Linked DNA regions of Homo sapiens: region 1 is linked to region 2. Evidence: promoter capture Hi-C in 16 types of primary human blood cells and fetal thymus (Javierre and others, 2016). All regions are on one chromosome and are shown on one strand. The core of a region is centred on a gene start or on the middle of the fragment in contact, and the rest is flanking DNA. Distances in the headings are between cores, read along the strand shown.

Region 1 (2,700 bases), core at 189-2,688, 260 kb after region 2:
GTCACTGTACCCCTTTGTGGTATCTGTACCCGGGCCTCTCCTTCCTCATAGGGACAGCTGATTCAATAAATGTGACCACCTTATTTCCACCCCCCAACAAAAAGCTACATTGGAATTATTTTTCCTAGAAATGTGTGTAACACTCAGAATTGGGCATTGATCCTTAAAGCTTCATCCGATTCACTGTATTCAGCATCTGTGATCTCTTAGTGTCTGCAGTCTTAACCTAACCTTGACCTTTTTTCCCTCTGGTTTGAGAAAAGTTTGGACACTATTTCTACTTGCCCAGGTGTGGGCTCAAGAGCCTTACTCTTTCCATCTCAGTGTAGGGGCACAGCCAACGCCTCTTCCCAATAGGGCTCTTTCTCCTTTCCCTCTCCTTGGCCCTAGATTTGTAATCCATGAAAAAGCACAAGGTCCTGGCTGCTTGCAGTCACATTCTGGTTCTCTGTGTTTTGTGGACTGTGCTCTCACTGTTCACCCAGCACTAGCAGTACCAGACGGTTCTGTGGAGTCCTGGGGAATGGAGAGAGCACAGTCTGACGCCCTGCCAAGTAGCCAGGAGTTGACTTGCCCATGGTCCGCTGGCTTTCCCACCACTTCCTACAGGATGGGATCTAAGAGACTCAGTAGCTGGGTTTCTTTCAGCACGCTGTACTGTCCCAAGTAGCAAACAAATCACTCTGTAGCCAGATTTCTGAATGGAAATGAGAAATTGAATTCTCCATGGACTTTTAGGTTTATGGGGGAGTTTTGGTTGTGTTTCCTGGTTTTATTTCAGCCAAACATGTCTGCTTTTGATTTTTTTTTTTTTTAAATTATAAGTGGTCTATATATATGTTCACCTTGTAAATGTCAGTGTTTAAAAAGAGTAAGCATTTATGTGTTTCCATAACTGACATCTGATACAGACCTCATTCTCTCCCCCTCTTCTACCCTCCTCTTTTCCCTCTTTTCATACTCTTGTATTGGTTCTAATAAATGGTTGCTTTTCAAAAAAAAAAAAAAAGTATGTTTTCATGTTGAGGAAGCATAGAAGGGCGCGAGTGGCTGTGAAGGCTATGGTGTGTGTGCCCACAGGCGTCTGCTAAACATGTGTCTGGAGACAGCTCTCAACTGTCAGCCTGCGGTTCTCTGTAAAATGGAAGTCAGTTACTTTGTTAAAAGTTATAATAAGGCCAGGCACGGTGGTTCACGCCTGTAATCCCAGCACTTTGGGAGACCAAGGCGGGCGGATCACCTGAGGTCAGAAGTTCGAGACCAGCTTGACCAGCACGGAGGAACCCGGTCTCTACTAAAAATACAAAAATTAGCCAGGTGTGGTGGCGGTCACCTGTAATCCCAGCTACTTGGGAGGCTGAGGCAGGAGAATCACTTGAACCCAGGAGACGAAGGTTGCAGTGAGCCAAGATTGTGCCACTGCACTCCAGCCTGGATGACAGAGCCAGACTATGTCTCAAAAAAAAAAAAGTTATAATTAATACACATGATGGAGACAAACAGCTATGTAAATGCTTTTATTTTTCAAAGAAAAAATACAGGTGGCCAGGCGAAGTTTCTCACGCCTGTAATGCCAGCACTTTGGGAGGCTGAGGCGGGTGGATCGCCTAAGGTCAGGAGTTTGAGACCAGCCAGGCTAACATGGTGAAACCTCATCTCTACTAAAAATACAAAAATTAGCCGGATGAGGTGGTGCATGCCTGTAGTCCCAGCTACTCGGGAGGCTGAGGCAGGAGAATCGCTTGAGCCTGGGAGGCGGAGGATGTAATGAGGCAAGATCACGCCATTGCACTCCAGCCTGGGTGACAGAGTGAGACTCCGTCTTAAAAAAACAAACAAACAAACAGGTTTTGTTTTTTTTCCTCAAAGCAGCACTTCTCAAACTTTTTGGTCTCTAGATCCCTTTATATATAAAAATTATTGAGGAACCAAAAAGCGTTTGATTAAGTAGGCTTTTATCCCTATATTCTGTGTTAGAATTAAAACTGAGAAATTTTAAAAATAGGCCAGTCACAGTGGTCCTTACCTGTAATCCCAGCACTTTGGGAAGCTGAGGCAGGAGGATCACTTGAGCCCAGGAGTTTGAGGCTGTAGTGGGCCATGATCGTGCTACTGCACTCTAGCCTGCTTGACAGAGTGAGACCCTGTCTCCAAAAAAAAAAAAGTGTTCATTCATTTGAAATTTGTGAAATTGTTTAATTAAATTAATTAATTAATTAATTTTGAGACAGAGTCTTGCTCTGTTGACCAGGCTGGAGTGCAGTGGCCTGATCTTGGCTCACTGCAACCTCTGCCTTCTGGGTTCAAGCAATTCTTCTGCCTCAGCCTCCCGAGTAGCTGGGTTACAGGTGCACGCCATCATGCCCGGCTAATTTTTGTATTTTTAGTAGAGACGGGATTTCACCATATTGGTCAGGCTGGTCTCAAACTCCTGACCTCAGGTGATCCACCCGCCTCGGCCTCCCAAAGTTCTGGGATTACGAGCGTGAGCCACCTCGCCTGGCCAACGTAACTATTTTATAAAACAAAACATTTCTATTGAGAAGAACAGCATTGCGTCAGTGTTTCTGCAGATCTCCTGGGTGTCTGACTGAATAGAGGATACCTGGATTCTCGGTTGTTGCAGTATCTCTTTCGCTCAGCCCCTGGGAAAGTCCACTGTACCCTCATGAGAGAATGACAGAAGAAACTGTGTTATGG
Region 2 (2,700 bases), core at 147-2,646:
AATATCCACTCAGGCCGTGCCCAGATGGCCTTGCACCTTCAGCTGTGGCATCAAACAAAACTGGGAATTGCAGCTTTACCACTTATCTCGCTGCATAAGCTTCCACAAGCAAGTTACTTACTGTTTGTGCTTTTAGGTTCTTAATATGTAAAACAATGTTTTACATTAAAAATTAAATGAAATAGCTCCTGAAAAGCCCAGTCACATTGTCAGAGCTCAGTAAAAATGTGTTCCCTTATTCTAGTACTGGGGCAGAACACCTGCAGGTTTGTAGGTGGGGAGACAGTGGACAGAGTGGCTGGGTGATGAAGTGGGGCTCTAGAGGATGAGCAGAGATTGCCTCTGAGCCGACACCCTGGCCCTGTCAGTTCCCGTCCTCACATGATGGACATGAAGGGAACACGAATGAAGCAGATGATGATACGGTTAAGTAAATACCACCTGGGACCAGAGAGAGCCCTTCTCAAGGAGTCGCCAGCCCAGAGTCGGCCCTCTTCTGAGCTGGCCGGCTGGAGTCAATCTGCTTTGGACAACACAGCTTCAGATGGAGATAATACTGAGGCCAATGATCCTTGAAGACAAAATAATCTCTGGGCTTCTTTCTGCTCTGATTATAATGTTGCAATTATACTGAGCAGATGCTGATAGGAATTTGGTCAAATCCATCCCGTCTTCCATCTAACTTATTTTAGTGCCTGGTGGATTTCTGTCCAGCTCCACGGGCTGTGGCAATGCCGGGGCTGGCTGGAAGTGTGGAAGGGGCTGGCTGGAAGTGTGGAAGAGGCTGCCCGGGCTCCGGCATCAAGAGGTTTTCTCCGGTGGGGAGGAGTGCGCGATCTGATCCTTGGAGCGCTTGCAACTGTAGCCCTCCCCCAGGGCTCTGCGCTGATCTCCAGGGTCATCATCATAGTAACAGTAAGAACTTCATTTTATAGCATTTTTCAATCTGTAAGACAACGTCGTGTCCTTTATACCGTTGAAATTTCAATTTCACGACTACTCAGATGTTACGCGACTTGCTCAGTATCCAACACTTGGTTCCTTCACTGGCTCCCGGAGACCTGGGTGCTGAAGCCACTGCAAGGAGGTGTGTGCTCGAACACACAGCGAACACCGACTGCGTGGTTAGCAGGATTCGCTGGGGAAGAGGCCTCAGGAGAGTGCTGGAATTTCCAACCTTCGAGGTGCTAGTAACGTGTGTCGAGGAAGGGGTTGGAGAAGGGGAGAAAATGAAAAGAAGGGGAGAAAATGAAAAGATGGGGAGGAGGAGAAATGGTTTGGGTTTGGTTTTGGCTTGAGCCTCACCCAAGCGTCCCACGCCGCAGCTCCGCGGCCTCCTGGGGGCGCCCGCTCGCGTTGCCACGGCGCTCGCGCGGAGCCGCAGCCCGCCCAGCCAGCAGCGCGCGCTCCTGCAGCCCCGGCGGAGTCCCGGCGGGGAGCGCCCGCGTAGGCAGGCACCCGGGGCAGCCCTCCGTCCTCGCCGCGCGGCCTGAGAACCCCTGGGCCCTGGGCGAGGGGGCTGGGCTGTGCAGCCCCCGAGGCTAACTGGGCGGGATCGCAGCTGCAGGGGTTGTGCGAGCAGCCACGGCGGCACCTGTGCCCTGCGGGCACCCACCCTGCCCCTGCCGAGGCAGGCGCCCACCGCCGGCGGTGATGCGGCTGTGAAGCCCTAGTCGGTGAGTACCCTCCAGTCCCCCTGTGGGCGAGCGAATCTAAATGACAAGGTTATGTGTTTTGCTGGATGTCTTCTAAGAATCATTTATTTAGATTGCTTATGGTGGGGAAGCGTTTCCTTTGTGACATCTTTGTGTTTCTCGGATCTATTTCGTTTCCCTCTAAACGCAGCCCTCTCTCCCCTAGTGGGAAAGACACCCAGTATCCGTGTCTCGATCATCGCACGACACCCACCAGTGCGGATGCCACGTACCACACACTCCCCAGAGCCTGCCAGAGAGCAGGGCTGTCTCCCAGCCACGTCCACCCCATTTTCATTGTGCTTCTATCCCGCAGGCAAAGGAAGAGCGTACCCAGGCACCCCCGAGGTAGGCCAGGTGTCAGGACAGCCAGCAGGCCCTTGGCGAAGCCGGGTCCGCTCTGGCTAGCTCAGCGCGGTGAACCCATGAGCTCATTAGGAGCAGCGGCTGCTTTGCGCGGGGAACGCCGGTTTCCCTGCGGCAGAGGGGCCCTGCACCCGCCCGCGGCGCGCGGTGGTGGCCCAGGACCAGTGGCGCACACGCTTGCGCTCCCAGGCTGCAGGGCGCGCTGCGCCGGCGCAGCTCCCGGGCGTGTGCAACAAAAGGACGGCCAAGTTCATTCCCTCCTGGAAGCAGAGGGCGGGGCCGCATGACTTCTGGAGGCTGCATGTGTCTTAGAATCAAATGGTTATGACTCCATAGCAAAATGCTTTCTGTGTGTCAAGTCCTCTCCGTGCCTGCCAACCCCTTCCCTCCTCTCTCCTCCCTAAAATGCTTTCTTATTGGTCTGGCACTGTGATCAACTATTTAGAATTTTCATTGTAAAGAAATGAAAAAAGGGTGAAACCGAGACAAGCTGTAGGCTGAAAGGCTGGGCCCTGTGGTGCTATTCATTAGCTCTCAGGCCTGGCTGCTGGGGAGATTTTTAGAAATCCTGCTACCTGGGTCCAATCCCTGGAGATTCTGACTTAATTGGTCTGGGATATGGCCCAAACACTGGGATTTT

Evidence for each region. The method cuts DNA at HindIII sites, captures the fragments that hold promoters and counts their contacts. A CHiCAGO score of 5 or more calls a contact.
Region 1: a fragment that was not itself captured here is called in contact with the fragment with the promoter of MICAL3 in region 2 in 3 of 17 cell types (erythroblasts, megakaryocytes and naive CD4 T cells); the score reaches 6.0 in erythroblasts.

The regions. Positions count from the first base shown.
Region 1 is chr22:17,762,020-17,764,719 of GRCh38, reverse strand. All of the region lies in intron 1 of BID (BH3 interacting domain death agonist), which reads left to right. It overlaps MIR3198-1 (microRNA 3198-1), which reads left to right and starts at 461; the gene lies at 461-540. The HindIII fragment of the contact is 2,534 bases long and covers 172-2,700 here.
Region 2 is chr22:18,023,257-18,025,956 of GRCh38, reverse strand. MICAL3 (microtubule associated monooxygenase, calponin and LIM domain containing 3) reads left to right here and starts at 1,396. Exons shown (of 32, transcript NM_015241.3): 1 at 1,396-1,676. RefSeq lists a silencer at 1,259-1,668. The HindIII fragment of the contact is 4,064 bases long and covers 102-2,700 here.